Linked DNA regions of Homo sapiens: all the other regions are linked to region 2. The links are contacts of gene promoters, found by promoter capture Hi-C in blood cells and fetal thymus (Javierre and others, 2016). All regions are on one chromosome and are shown on one strand. Each heading gives the region's core, a stretch centred on a gene start or on the middle of the fragment in contact. The rest is flanking DNA. Distances are from core to core; before and after follow the strand shown. Region 1 overlaps TTC21A (tetratricopeptide repeat domain 21A). Region 2 holds the start of RPSA (ribosomal protein SA). Region 3 overlaps WDR48 (WD repeat domain 48). Region 4 overlaps CSRNP1 (cysteine and serine rich nuclear protein 1). Region 5 overlaps WDR48 (WD repeat domain 48).

Region 1 (2,700 bases), core at 20-2,519, 290 kb before region 2:
CAGGGAGACGGGGTCTGAAAGTGCTTTTGGAGTGGGCTGTGCCTTATTTGGGGAAAGCGGGTGGTATTGCAGCTGTTATGCAGCAGAGCCACACCCAGCTCTAGCCTCTAGTGCCTGGGTGCCCATCTCCCATATTCTTTTTTGTGGAGGTGACCTGAGAAGGCTGGCCTGCCTAGGCCTCTCAAACATCAGGGAAGGTTCAACTAGACCAGGTTGCCAACAAATCTGTATCTCTTTCAGACCCTTCAGCCCCAAAGCAAGATTTACTAGAAGTAGTTGCTGTAAGAATGAAGGCAACTCTGGGACCCCAGGAACCAGAACTGTGGAGTTGCATAGGCACCATCTCTCCCTCTGTATGTCTGATTCTCTCTGCCTTGTTCTCCACACATGGCAGGGAACATGGCTGATGGCAGCCTTTGGGGCCACTTCTTATTACTGGACACATTCAGCTTCAATTTTTGAAAAACCTCTTGGTGACTCCTTAGACCAATTACTGTGACCAGACAGGGGATAGGTCCCTCAGAGGACCCTGTGGCTAGAGGCAGGTTCCACAGTTGTGGCCAGTGAGAGGTTCCTTGGGAGCCAGACAGCAACACAGACCCAGCTGCCTAGACACACGGTACCTCTTGGCTCTCCTGGGCCTACCAGCCCTGCCTACCAAAGTGTCCCCCGTTTCTGACATGACCTTGCTCATACAGGCTGGACTGACTGGTTTCCCAATTCCCACCTTCCTGTTTCTTGCAGTGTGGGAGTCACCAGGTGATTCTAGGGCTAGTGTGTAGTTTCATCGAGCGCACCTTCATGGCCACCCCCTCGTATGTCCATGTGGCCACAGAACTGGGCTATCTCTTCATCCTGAAGAACCAAGTGAAAGAGGCCTTGCTGTGGTATTCAGAAGCCATGAAACTGGACAAGGATGGCATGGCTGGTTTGACAGGTATATGCAGGTGTGGCAGGGCTCAGGGATGGGTGTCGGGAGCCAAACCGGGCAGCTTCCATGGGTCCAGAAGAGAGGTGCTGGAAAGCATTCTCCTTGAAGGGTATGTGAATTTTGGGGTACAATGTATGATGGGGTATCTTTCTGGGAATCCACAAGTATAGATGTAAGAGGCACAGCAATGCTCAGAGGTATGATCAGAGTCACTCTGATCTCCACCAGACCTCCAATGTCTGTCTACACTGACTGCCCCAGAAGACTGACAGGCTGAACCTTATACTCAGTGGGCCCTGCCTCTTCTCAGGCTGCCCAGGCCGGGGTTGGAGGCAGTTCTACTCACCACCAGTCCCCACATGCAGAGCCTCTAGATTCACCTCTGTAGACCCTCCTTCAGGGCTCTGAGCTGAAAAACCACCAAAAAGAGTAGCTCTGAGAATTATATATTTCCCTGTCTGTCCAGGTGACTTTAAAAATCTTTTCTATAAATGCCAAATGAACTTTCTACAGTGCCATTTCCATTTTACGCATTTTTTAAAGCCCCCTATTCCATGGTCTGTGGTGAACTCTGAAGTGGCAGTATTTGGTTTGGGTTGAGGAAGTTGTGTGGTCCAGTGCTCAAGGCAGGCCGACTCTTGCCCTGGCTCTGAGGGGCTATGTGTTTGGGGCCAAGTCACTTCTCCTTTCTAAACTCCAGGCTCCTCATCTGCATAGCACATTTATCAGAGTAGTTTATCTTGACTTCTGGTTCAACATGTCAGGCTGACCCCCTCAAATCCATGCTTTCCCTCTGTCCCCAAATCCCATGAAAATAATGAAAGATATCTTTAAAAGGTAATGAGCCAGGCGTGATGGCTCACGCCTGTAATCCCAATACTTTGGGAGGCTGAGGTGGGCAGGTCATTTGAGGTCAGGAATTCGAGACCAGCCTGGCCAACATGATGAAACCCCATCTCTACTAAAAACACACAAAAATTAGCCAGGTGTGGTGGAGGACACCTGTAATCCCAGCTATTTGGGACGCTGAGGCCGGAGAATCACTTGAACCCGGGAGATGGAGGTTGATATGAGCCGAGATGACACCACTGCACTGCAGCCTGGGCCACAGAGTGAGACTCCACCTCAAAAAAAGAAAGAAAAAAAAAAAAAAGAGTACATAGCAGCGTGGACCAGAAACTTTGAAGAATTTCACATTTCTAGAAGATGGAAGGCAAATGGTGTCAAATACATGGGAATTCGAAGCAGATCTAGAAACCCATAAGCAAACATAGGCAGAGATGGGTTAGCTAAAGAATTTAGTAGACCAGCTTTCCCCAAAGAGTTCCAGGAAAAACAAAAACTAAAAAAGACGAGCTCAGGGTCACCAGAGGCTGAGTGTGAAAGCATGCCACGGGGCAGTGAGAGCGATAATAGGAGGATTACTGGAATCATGCCTTGGCCAGAGGCTAGAATCCAGGAGGTGTGTATTGGGTGTTGGGGCAGGAGGGAGAGGAGCACTGCTCTGGATGATTTCCCACCATAACCAGGGACATGAAGGACAAAAGGACTTGGCTGCTCAGCACAAAAGCAAAATTCCCTAGAATGTTCTTCCACCAGGTTGAGTCCTTCCCTACTTCCTCCTTCAAGGGGCAGAGTCCCAGTGGTTAGCCAGAGGAAAGTCCACTGGTCAGGATGTCTGTCCCACTCTCCCAGTCCAAGCTGAGCCCACCTGTATGTCCTGGAGTCACCATATTTTCTGCCCAGTCTGACAAAATCAGTGACCTTAA
Region 2 (2,700 bases), core at 24-2,523:
GGAGTCTTACTCTGTCGCCCAGGCTGGAGTGCAAGTGGCGCAATCTCCACTCACTACAACCTCTGCCTCCTGGGTTCAAGCAATTCTCCCGCCTCAGCCTCCCCAGTAGCTGGGATTACAGGCATGCCTGGCTAATTTTTGAATTTTTAGTAGATACCGGGTTTCGCCATGTTGGCCAGGCTGGTCTCTTGAACTCCTGGCCTCAAGGGATCCGCCCGCGTCAGCCTCCGAAAGTGCTGGGATTACAGCCACCGCGCCCCTTCAATTAACTCCTATTTTTTTGTTTGTTTTTTGGAGACAGAATTTCGCTCTATTGCCCAGGCTGGAGTGCAGCGGTGCAATCACATTCACTGCAGACTTGACCTCTAGGCTCAAGCTATCCTCCTGCCTCAGCCTCCTGAGTAGCTGAGACTACAGGGACGCACCATCATGATTGGTTAATTTTTGTATTTTTTGTGGAGATGGGGGTCTCCCCATGTTTCCCAGGCTAGTCTTGAACTTCTGAGCTCAGGCAATCCACCCACCTCGGCCTCCCAAAGTGCTGGGATTACAGGCACAAGCCACCGCGCCCGGCAAACTTATCTCCTACTGATGGATATTGCAAAATTTTTCTTCTACCAAAAAAAAAAAAAAAAAAAAGATAGATATAATCCATACCATCTGTTCAATCTTGTCCTTTTTAACTTTTTCAGGGAAACTTCCCCCAGGTGATAGATGGATAGATACATGAGATAGACATAACGCATACGATCAGTTCAATCTTATCTTTTTTAACTTTTTCAGAGAAAACTTCCCTTAAGTGAACATTTAAATCTGAATTACGTCCTGTTAAACTGTTCTCCAGGAAAATAAAATAAAATAAATCTTCAAGTTTTTGTTTACCTAACAATTTGTTGTGTCGAACAAACCTTCCTACTTTTCAGGTAACAAAATGGCAGCTTAGGCTAGAAAGCCGCTCATATTCGCAGGTACAAGGGCTGGGTAAGAACGCCCCGCCTGGCTGACTAACTTGAGTTCCGCGCTCTGGACAGGAATTATGCACAGGGCGTCGCTGTGGCACTAGAAACCCCAAAGTCACAAGCGCCCCAGATCCGACCAGGATGCCGCTACCGGCTACAGCCCAGAGGCCCGCTCCTGCGGCGCAAGCCCGCCTTCCTGAAGAAAAAGCCCAGTCCCGGCAGCGTTCTTCTCCGGCTCCGCCCTTCTTCCGCTCGACTTTCTTTGCCATTGGCTGACAACGGAGTACATAAGGACGTCATTTCCTGCCGCCTGTCTTTTCCGTGCTACCTGCAGAGGGGTCCATACGGCGTTGTTCTGGGTGAGTTCCGTGTAGCGTCCCTGGCGCCTTCCAGGGCTAGAAAAATGAGCTTTTCCTGCTCAAATGAAGGGTGAGAAGACTAGTGATGAAAGCCGGTCAGACTGGATCTGTCTCCCGCCCGGCGCGCCCCACCTTAGGCCTGCGGCCCGCACGTGGCCAGGCTCGGGCTGGCGGGTTCCCAGAGTGCCCCGGGAGCGGGTGGAGGCCGCCCTCCAGCGGAGGCTCCGAGCTGGGGTTCGGACCAGGCCGCGGGTGGGCGGGAGTGCAGAAAGCGGGCTAACATCCTGTGTTGCTATCCCTTCGGAGTCCCACACGGCGGTGAGTCTAGGCCCAGGCGCTGATTTACACCAGCTACTTGGGCTGGTCGGGTTTTCCCTTCGCGCCGTGCGGGTCAGGAGTTAAGGTTCTCGGGTTTTTAGACAAACAAGTGGTGACAGCACAGCGAAGTAATTCCAAAGCATCCGCCTACAATCTGCTTGAAAATGTCTGAAAACAATTCATGCCTTTTTTGCCTTTAGTTTGCATATTCCAAACATGGCTGCTCTTTTGTATCTAGTTGTTAACTTGGCGCATCCACAACTTTTCCTTAATTCCTATCTTGAGAAGTGTTGAATTTCCATTCGCTAATTTCGTGTAGTTTTATTACTCGGTTACTCTGCCGTCCACACTATTTCCTCAGTAAGATGTGCGCTGTTCCGTAATACACGACATGTATGGGTTAACTTTCTGTTTACCCTTCACTACACTGTAAGCTCAATGCCTGACACTATAGCAGATGGAGTTTTTGGTTGCTTTTAAGGGTGTGCCCTACTTAACTCAATGGAATGAAAAGAAATAGGTTGCTCTCTTATTTCAGATTCCCGTCGTAACTTAAAGGGAAATTTTCACAATGTCCGGAGCCCTTGATGTCCTGCAAATGAAGGAGGAGGATGTCCTTAAGTTCCTTGCAGCAGGAACCCACTTAGGTGGCACCAATCTTGACTTCCAGATGGAACAGTACATCTATAAAAGGAAAAGTGATGGTTAGTCATTGCTTTAATTTTTTGTTACTCCAGCTGTAAGTACAAATTTTGAGCTTGCTATTCTCGTGGTTAGTTCTGGGTAATTTCTTTCTATCTTCCTTAAATGAAGCCAGACCCCTACGTTGAAAACATACTTTAAATAAATGTTCTTGTTATTGAGAGAAAAGATTTCTGCTCCAGGGGAGGAATATGTCAGTTGTCTGAGTTACGGGACTTGGGTTGGGTCATGAACATGAGAAAGTTCATTGGCTGAGTTTCTAATAGCTCGCATAGTGCCTTCAACTTCATAGGTACTTACACAGGCTATTGAACTGAATTTTGAGTGGAAAGTGGGGTAAGAGGTGGGAATGAACAATATGG
Region 3 (2,700 bases), core at 39-2,538, 340 kb before region 2:
CAGGCTGGTCTCAAACTTCTAGACTCAGATAATCCAACTGCCTTGGCCTCCCAAAGTGCTGGTATTACAGGCGTGAGCCACCGCGCCTGGCCAGATCCATTTTCATAGATGAGAAAATGGGCTCAGAGAAACCCATGGTTATGTGGCTAGGAAGTGACAGAGAATTAGTACCCAGCCCAACTTGAAAACCCTAGTGCTAGACCTTGTATTTTTAAAAGTTTGTGTCTTTTTAGCAAGTTTTACAAGTCTGATATTCAGTTCAGAAAAAGAACCACTACTTTATGCGCCTATAACTTCAGTCTGGCAGGCTTTGAATTCTTTAGCCAATGGACCATGCAGTGGTGGCCAAATGTCAAAAGCATGAAAAGTAAGAAAACTATGTTTGGCTTTGAAATGCTTTTTGGTACTTATAATTGAATTGGAATGTCTCCTTTCTGAGCATTCACAGTATTTCAAACAAATTAAGAAAAACACCCAAAAGAACTAACCTGAAGAATCTGGAAATCTGCCTGTCTTGCCCCAAACATCTTTTTTCTGGTCTTCCTTTTATGACAAGATTGAATAGCATTATTTGTCAAACAGACTTGTACAGAGCTGTTCTGTTTGCCCATAAAGTGTCTCAAACTTGCCTGTTTTAGGTGTAGGATGTAACTAAATACTGTTCTTTAAAAGGCCTCTCCTGGTTATTAAGCCAGGTAAGAGAAGTAGAATCTCGAATCACCTAATTGAAATGGTGACACAGGTTGTCCTTTCTCAGCCGTTGGGTTTCCTTTCATCTCTGAAGGCCTGTAGGTACCATGAGGAAAACATTTAATTCAGAGGGTGAACCCAACAGTAGGAAGCTGAAAGCAGAAGTGTTTATCTCCCTCTGCATTCAGACCAGGCTCCTTAGTGCACTCATCAGACTCATTGCTGCCCCTGCTGTCTGCTGTTGAGCCTTCACCACCACTCATTCAAATCCCCACAGCCTACAGATTCCTACAAGTCATGTCCTTTCTAGTGAACCCTTTTTAAAGGGTTTTATGTCACACACAGTGCCTAGTCCAGAGCTTGTTGCCTTCACTTTAACAAGGCAAAAAAAAAAAAAATGAAGTATTTGTCCTGGAAACCTAAGCTTTCAGTAAGAGTAAAACTGTCCTGAAACAAAACTGTTTACATCTGTTATCTGGAAGCATCACCTATTTGGTGAGATTCTACTCAGAATTCAGGTGTTAGTTTTAATGCCTAGAGCAGTATGTCACATTAATTGAAGAATTTAACCATATCTATCATTTGTAATATATTTCATTCTCTCATATAAACTCTTAGGATTTTTCTTTTAATTTCAGCAAGATCCATATATAGCATCTATGGAACACCATACTGATTGGGTAAACGACATTGTACTCTGTTGTAATGGGAAAACATGTAAGTATTTCTTTGGATTATTATTGGGCTTCTGATATATTTTTTGTTTTTTATATAAGCTTTTTTATTGAAACATACATACAGAAAAGTACACACACTTCGAGATTGCAGTTCAACACAATTTTAGAAAGTGAATACCCAAATCAAGAAACAATATTACTAGAAGCCCTCTTGTGCCACCCTTTGCCACCCTTTCAGTTATTCCCTCTTGCCCCAAGGTAACTGCTCTTCTGTCTTCTGAACACCAAAGGGTAGTTTTGCCTTCATTTGAACTGTATATAGACTCGTACTATATGTATTCTTCTTTTAGCCTTATTAATACCTCTTTTTGTTCTAATTTTGGTGAGATCCATTCCTTGGTTTTGCAGTCCGAGTTACAGGAATTTTTCTCAATCACATTAGTTGAGCCTTCAACTGGAACATTAAAAATGTTTGCACTGCTTGTTTTAAAAATATATTTTTTTCTTTGAACATGTGTCTTGAGATTTTAAAAAATTGAGGCAATATACAATAGGTTCTAGAAAGAGCTTTTAGGTATGTTTGTGTGTGTAAGAGAGAGAATATGTTAGTTTGAAATAATGTTACATTGTTGTAAGATAAGTTTTCAAAGTTTTAAGTCATACTACTAAGGAGTTTGTTAATTCTTTGCTTCTTCTAGTAATATCTGCTTCTTCTGACACGACAGTAAAAGTATGGAATGCACACAAGGGATTTTGCATGTCAACATTAAGGACACATAAGGTAAAACAATACAGTTCTCAGTGTCTTTAGTGTAATATTGGGATCTCAGTACTTTGTGTGGCTCATTTTATTACTGATCTACAGAATAGATCATAGTATGTCTGTTCTATTACAGGATTACGTAAAGGCCTTAGCATATGCCAAGGATAAAGAACTAGTAGCATCAGCTGGGTTGGACAGACAAATATTCCTTTGGGATGTGAATACTCTAACAGCATTGACTGCCTCAAATAACACTGTCACAAGTAAGGTGTTTAAAAGAAACTTCTTTGAAAGTGATCCAAGTTAACATAAATAAAGAATGGTTTATAAAACATTTTTGATAGGTTTGCATCGAGAGAGTGTTTCATATTTTGAGAGTGCTTCTACCTACAGCGTTCTGGCCCCCAAGAGTATGATTGAACAACAAAGAGCTAGTTCCTCACTGCAGTCTAAAAATGGTAACTTCTCCAGGTATAACCTGGTTATTTTTTGTACGTGTGCATGTCTTAGCTCCCTAGCTAAAATGTAAGTCCCTGCAGGGTAGAGGAGACTGTCTTACTACTTCGTATC
Region 4 (2,700 bases), core at 104-2,603, 260 kb before region 2:
GACAACTCAATGTACCAGGGTACTCTAACCTGAGAAGCCTATTCCTAGTTAAGCTGGTTACAGGGACATACTGCCGCACCATAGGCCAGACTCCAAACTATGAGTCCTCTAATGGCACTGATATGGCCATGTGGTCATGACCATGCATGTCCAGAGGCAAGAGACAGATACCTGAAGGGTGACAGGACAGGCAAAAAAAGGATTAAACATTCAGAGAAAGAATGGCAGAAACATGAAAATCAATGCAAGTTGCAAACATACACAGGACTTGCATGTTCCAGGCACTCTTTAAGGGCTTTGTAAATATGAAATAAACAAGTTTATGAGGTGAGTAGTGTTACTGTTTGCATGTAGTATTGAGGACACCCAGGCACAGAGGGAGTAATTTGCACAAATCACCTCACTAGGTAGCAGAAAATCTGAGATTCAAGCCCAGCATTCTGGCTCTGTGCTCTTACCAGTTAAGCCAAAGAGATGAGTGAGCCCAGTACAGACCAAGGCAGAGAATTAGAGCAAGGAGACCCAAATCAGTTCTCCTCTGGCGGTTCCTCCTTCCAGCTCTTGTACAAATCACTATCATTCCTAAGGGGGAAGTCAACCTTTCTCAGGCCCCCAGACTGGGGCTCCCCAGAGCAGGGTGTGGCCTACTCCTCTGGCCTGCTGCCCAGCTGAGCTGCCAGGGACAGGTCAGACAGGTCTGGCTGGTGCAGAGGGATGAGGTTCTGCAGCTTCCCCCTGCCCTTTCCGCTGCCCCCCTGCTCAAGTCCCCAGGGACCACAGCTGCTACGTAAGGCCATCACCAGGCCTTGACCAGGCACATGCCCTTACCCTGCCTCCACCCAGGTTGGTGAATTCACCCTCAGGACAAGGCCTCAGCTCAGTGTGGGTGTGTAGGAAGAAGGGTGCCCTTACCCATCCCCAGCAGATAGCCCCATGTCAGAAGACCCTGGTGCTGCTCCTCCCCACCACCCCAGGTCACCACTGTAGAGGAACAGGTTACTCCAAAGGAAAAACTGCTCTATCTGCCTGGCCAGCCTCTCAGCTGGCTTCCTGCCTCCAACTTGACTGGCTTGCCTGGAAAGAGGCCCAATATGCTGGGTGTGCCTACTCCTACCCCTCAACACAGCCTGTGTCCATACTCCCCTCTGCAGGGCTTGTCCCCCATCCCCTTTGCCCCTGCTTCCCACCCCACAAATACATACCACATTGCTAAAAATAAAGCCTCTTTATTGGTACCTGTAAGCTCAGGTACAAGGTGTTCCCACAAGCACACAGGCTGGCAAGGCCTCCTGGGCAAGGGGCAGGCCCAGAGCCTGCGTTTCTTGGCACAGACACAGAGAGAAATGGAATAAATTATAGTTCTGACACTCAGGGACAATGTAGAAATTATGATGCAAAATTAAACATTAGCAAACAAAGGGTATAAAAACCCTCAGGAGCCACCCCTCGCCAACTGGCCTCAGGGCATGGGCAGGTGGGCCACGCTGAAGTGCAGTGCCCAGAAAGCCCTGAGATAATAGTCTGGGGCATGGTTCGCGCCCCGAGGTAGGCCCTTTGCCCTCTCTGGGCTTCCTGTTTCCTCCTTCCCCCTCCTACATCCCTGGGCCTGGAATAAAGGCTGTGGCCTTTGGGAAGGGGGAAGATGGAACAGAGGGCAGGAAGTGGAGGGGGCAGGGTGGGGCAGAAGGGAGTTTTGGTCACAGCTGTTCAGCCCAGGCTCTCCCCCTGCCTAGATGATGTCCTTGGCCAGCACCTGCCCACAGAGCCATCTAGGAGCCAGGCAGCAGACATAGATCACAGAGCTCAAATCCACACCTAGTCTGCACCAAAGCCCAGGCAGGGCAAGGTGTAGGACTACAAGGCAAAAGGGGCTCTTGAGGGCCTGTGCCCACCCCACCCCTGGCATTACCCACCAGCCAAAGAAGTGCAACCAAAGCCTCCTCAATCTCCAAATAAATTATGGAAATAAATTATAGTCTTCACAGTCCAGTGGATTTAGCCACCCATGGGTCTAGGGCTCAGGGTGGCAGAAGCCACCTGATTTCAGCCCTGTCTCACCGTCTTTGGGCTAAGGAACATCACGCAAAGACCGAAAAGTGGTCTGCCAAGCTCCAGAGGAGCCACATTTTCTCCTCTTCCAGGCTCACGTTGTGGAGATAGAAGAGCAAGCTGTGGGTGTGGGGGGCCGGGCAGCTGAAAGGGGAAGCCCCCTCCCCCCAGTCCTCTCTTCAGCACAGAAAAGTTAAAACAAATAAATAAATCCAGAGAATTGTTTGAAAACCAGGAGTGTGCACATGGCACCTGTGGGTGAGCCAGCCAGTGGGAGACTGTTACGCAGACTCTGGGGAGCCCCATAATTACAAGAAAGCAGCAACAGGTCTCTTGGGGCTGGGAAAAGACATCCTGGTCCTCACACCGGCACAGGCTCCATTAGAGATGCTGGGACAGTGTCCTCAAACTGGCTGTCAATAAAGGGATCTAGGGCTTCGGCGGCTGGCTCGGAGAAGCCCATGAGGGACTCCAGGAAGCAACTGCTGGCATCCCCAGGTGGAGACAGGCCAGGCAGGGGGAAGTGAGGTGCCTCGATGTTGTCCAGGCTGTCAGACACCTTCTGTGATGTGTAGTGAGGCCCCAGACTATAATCTGGCAGAGCCTGGAGTAACTCAAAGGAGTCACAAGAAGACAAGCTGAGATCCACTG
Region 5 (2,700 bases), core at 144-2,643, 320 kb before region 2:
TCTGGTTAACTGAGGCCTGAGTAGAATCCTGCTGTCTGAATGGGAGGTACTTCTACTTAGATGGGGCCAGCATACATCATGATTGGCATTTCTGTGTACCTAGCAGCTTCCCATATCTAGACCTTGAAGTTTTGATATCAAATGATCTGGTGTAATAGACGTGGCTAAACAGTGTGGGACAGTCAGGAGTTTTTTAGGAACATTGGCTTGGGAGTTGGACAGAGCTGCATTCTAACCTTGGCTGTGCCAAATACTCGCCAAGTGATCTACGGAATATGCTAGGGAACATCTCTAAAATGGTTTCTTCATTCCTAAAATGTCGGGGGTGCCTATTATTGGTGATGTTGAGAAGCACAGTGTCTGGTACATAATAGGAGGCTGTTGCACTAATACAGGTGAAAGGTGATATTTGTCTAGACTAGGGTGGGAACAAGGGGGATGGAAAAAATCGAATGATTAGGAAAATATTTAGGCCTGTGAACAAGAGTGATACTTTTTTTTTTCTTTTTTTTTTGATACGGAGTCTCATTCTGTTGCCCCGGCTGGAGTGCAGTGGCGCAACCTCAGCTCACTGCAACCTCTGACTCCCTGGTTCAAGCGATTCTCCTGCCTCAGCCTCCCGAGTAGCTGGGATTACAGGCATGCACCACCACATCGGGCTAATTTTTGTATTTTTAGTAGAGACAGCGTTTCTCCTTGTTGGCCAGGATGGTCTCGATCTCCTGGCCTCATGATCTGCCCGTCTTGGCCTCCCACAGTGCTGAGATTACAGGCATGAGCAACCGTGCCTGCCCACAGGAGTGATACTTTAATGAAAGGAGTATGAGGAAAGGAAAAAGCAAGAATGAGTCCCAGATTTCTTGATTGTCCAGTTTGGTGAATGGAAGTGATGTAGGGAATGTAAGATGAAAAACAGGTTATCAGGAGAAAAGGACATGCTGAGAAAGATGTTGAATTTGAGTTTCTGTGGGATATCTGAATAGAGGTGTTTGGTGGGCAGACAGCTGTACAGTCTCATGCACAGTTAAAGAACTGGGCTGGAGAAAAAGGCTCAGCAGTCATCAGCTTGTGGGTTACAGTTTGATGTCATAGGAAATGTCAGAGTTTCCAAGGGACATATGTAGACTGAGAAGAAACTAAGTCATCAGTCTTTCAGGGATGTTGGGAAAAGAGGAAGCCACAATAGTATATGATTTTAAAAAGTTGCGGGGGAGTAAGAAAATGAAGAGCCAGTGGCAGCTCCAGAACTAATTGAGTGTTTCAAGAAGAAGCTTGCGGTTAGTGGCATTAACCTGCTGTGAGTTGATTTAAGATGTGACTAACATCATGGATTTAAATAAAGAGGGTGGCCTCTGGGTAGAGTCTTAAGGGCAAAAGCCAGGTAGAGTGAGTTGAGTAGTGATTTGAAGGTGAAGAAACAGAAAATTTGACTGGATAATCTTTGAAGAAATTTGATTGGAGGGGTAGGCAGGAAGCGGCGGAAACTAGAGAAGATGTAGGAGTCAGAGGGCCAAAGGAAGCTTTTGATTTTGTTTGGTTTTGTTTGGATATTTGGGTATTTTTCAGATGTAAGAAATTTGAGCATATTTCATTGCTCCTGGGAAGAAGCCAGTAGAGACATTCATGGGTAGATGACAATACAAGGTCATCCCAAGAAGCAAGAGGTGAGGGGGACCGGAGCACAGTCAGAAGGGACACCGTTTTCCTTGCACCAGGGAGAATGATAGAGAAAGTTAAGGGGATTCTGTCAAGGCTTCTCTTTGTTTTGAGAAAAAGGAATCAGAGTCATGTGCTGAGGATAATGGGGAAGGTGGCAAGGTCAGAGGTAGAAGAGAGATTTAGTTGAGATGGACTGCAAGACAGTGACCCCAGGGCTCAAGTCTCCAGTAAATGAGGGAGAGTGGCAGGTTGCTAGATGGCAGTGAAGGAAAGGTGTACCGTTTACTGTTGCTAAATGACATAGGCCTCAGAGAAATAAGTTTTTACATGGGAGATGGTAGAGTAATGGTCTCCATGGAGCATCAAGGAACAATGGGATGTGGGAAAATAAGCAGTCCCCCTTTGAGAAGATGGCCGACAACTGGGACCCTCGAAAGAGCCACGTTGCTGTTAAGATGAGGTGGTATATTATATCAATATCAGCACAATTAAATACAGTTTCTTCCCAAATACTATTTTGTGCTTTTTTAATTTAAATTTTTTATAGCAGCAGATTGTTATTTTAAAAAAGGACCACATTCTTTTTGAAATGTATTTTAGACTGTTTCACTTAGACACATGTGAAAATATGTAAAATTTTGAATAGCAAAGTCAGAATCAAGTGAATTCACCACTTAATATTGATCATTATACTTTCTTTTGATGTATAGGCATGTAAAGTTGAAGATCTGGGCAAAGTGGATTTTGAAGATGAAATTAAGAAAAGATTTAAAATGGTGTATGTGCCAAATTGGTTCTCAGTAGACTTAAAAACAGGGGTAAGTTAGCAATTGATACTTGTATGATTTGGGATAATTGAAGATTTTCATTATAGCTTATAATTATTATTAGTTACAGAGTCCTGTGTTTTTAGGTGTGAAAAAAAAAATTTGTGTTAAAACTTAAAATGCAAAATGGAATAAAAAAGAAAAAAACAAAATTAAAAATATATTAAAAAAGAAAAAAATTTAAAAGTTACAAAATGCCTTTGGTATCCCAGGA

The links. The method cuts DNA at HindIII sites, captures the fragments that hold promoters and counts their contacts. A CHiCAGO score of 5 or more calls a contact.
Region 1: a contact is called between a fragment that was not itself captured here and the fragment with the promoter of RPSA in region 2, in 1 of 17 cell types (activated CD4 T cells). The highest score is 5.0, in activated CD4 T cells.
Region 3: a fragment that was not itself captured here is called in contact with the fragment with the promoter of RPSA in region 2 in 1 of 17 cell types (total B cells); the score reaches 5.6 in total B cells.
Region 4: a contact is called between a fragment that was not itself captured here and the fragment with the promoter of RPSA in region 2, in 3 of 17 cell types (fetal thymus, non-activated CD4 T cells and neutrophils). The highest score is 7.0, in fetal thymus.
Region 5: a fragment that was not itself captured here is called in contact with the fragment with the promoter of RPSA in region 2 in 1 of 17 cell types (total CD4 T cells); the score reaches 5.3 in total CD4 T cells.

What each region holds. Positions count from the first base shown.
Region 1 is chr3:39,120,253-39,122,952 of GRCh38, forward strand. It overlaps TTC21A (tetratricopeptide repeat domain 21A), which reads left to right. Exons shown (of 29, transcript NM_001366900.1): 9 at 745-937. Among named protein-coding and RNA genes, the nearest start is that of TTC21A, 14 kb to the left of the region's middle. RefSeq lists a silencer at 2,699-2,700. The HindIII fragment of the contact is 4,421 bases long and covers 1-2,700 here.
Region 2 is chr3:39,405,447-39,408,146 of GRCh38, forward strand. It overlaps RPSA (ribosomal protein SA), which reads left to right and starts at 1,274. Exons shown (of 7, transcript NM_002295.6): 1 at 1,274-1,318; 2 at 2,175-2,340. The coding sequence starts at 2,208. RefSeq lists enhancers at 995-1,786, 1,168-1,307 and a silencer at 1,478-1,657. The HindIII fragment of the contact is 4,276 bases long and covers 1-2,700 here.
Region 3 is chr3:39,064,483-39,067,182 of GRCh38, forward strand. It overlaps WDR48 (WD repeat domain 48), which reads left to right. Exons shown (of 19, transcript NM_020839.4): 3 at 1,329-1,407; 4 at 2,066-2,148; 5 at 2,264-2,393. Among named protein-coding and RNA genes, the nearest start is that of WDR48, 14 kb to the left of the region's middle. The HindIII fragment of the contact is 352 bases long and covers 1,113-1,464 here.
Region 4 is chr3:39,140,645-39,143,344 of GRCh38, forward strand. It overlaps CSRNP1 (cysteine and serine rich nuclear protein 1), which reads right to left. Exons shown (of 5, transcript NM_033027.4): 5 at 1,211-2,700. The coding sequence ends at 2,411. Among named protein-coding and RNA genes, the nearest start is that of MIR6822, 3.8 kb to the left of the region's middle. The HindIII fragment of the contact is 8,062 bases long and covers 1-2,700 here.
Region 5 is chr3:39,081,786-39,084,485 of GRCh38, forward strand. WDR48 (WD repeat domain 48) reads left to right here. Exons shown (of 19, transcript NM_020839.4): 12 at 2,370-2,477. Among named protein-coding and RNA genes, the nearest start is that of GORASP1, 24 kb to the right of the region's middle. The HindIII fragment of the contact is 249 bases long and covers 1,270-1,518 here.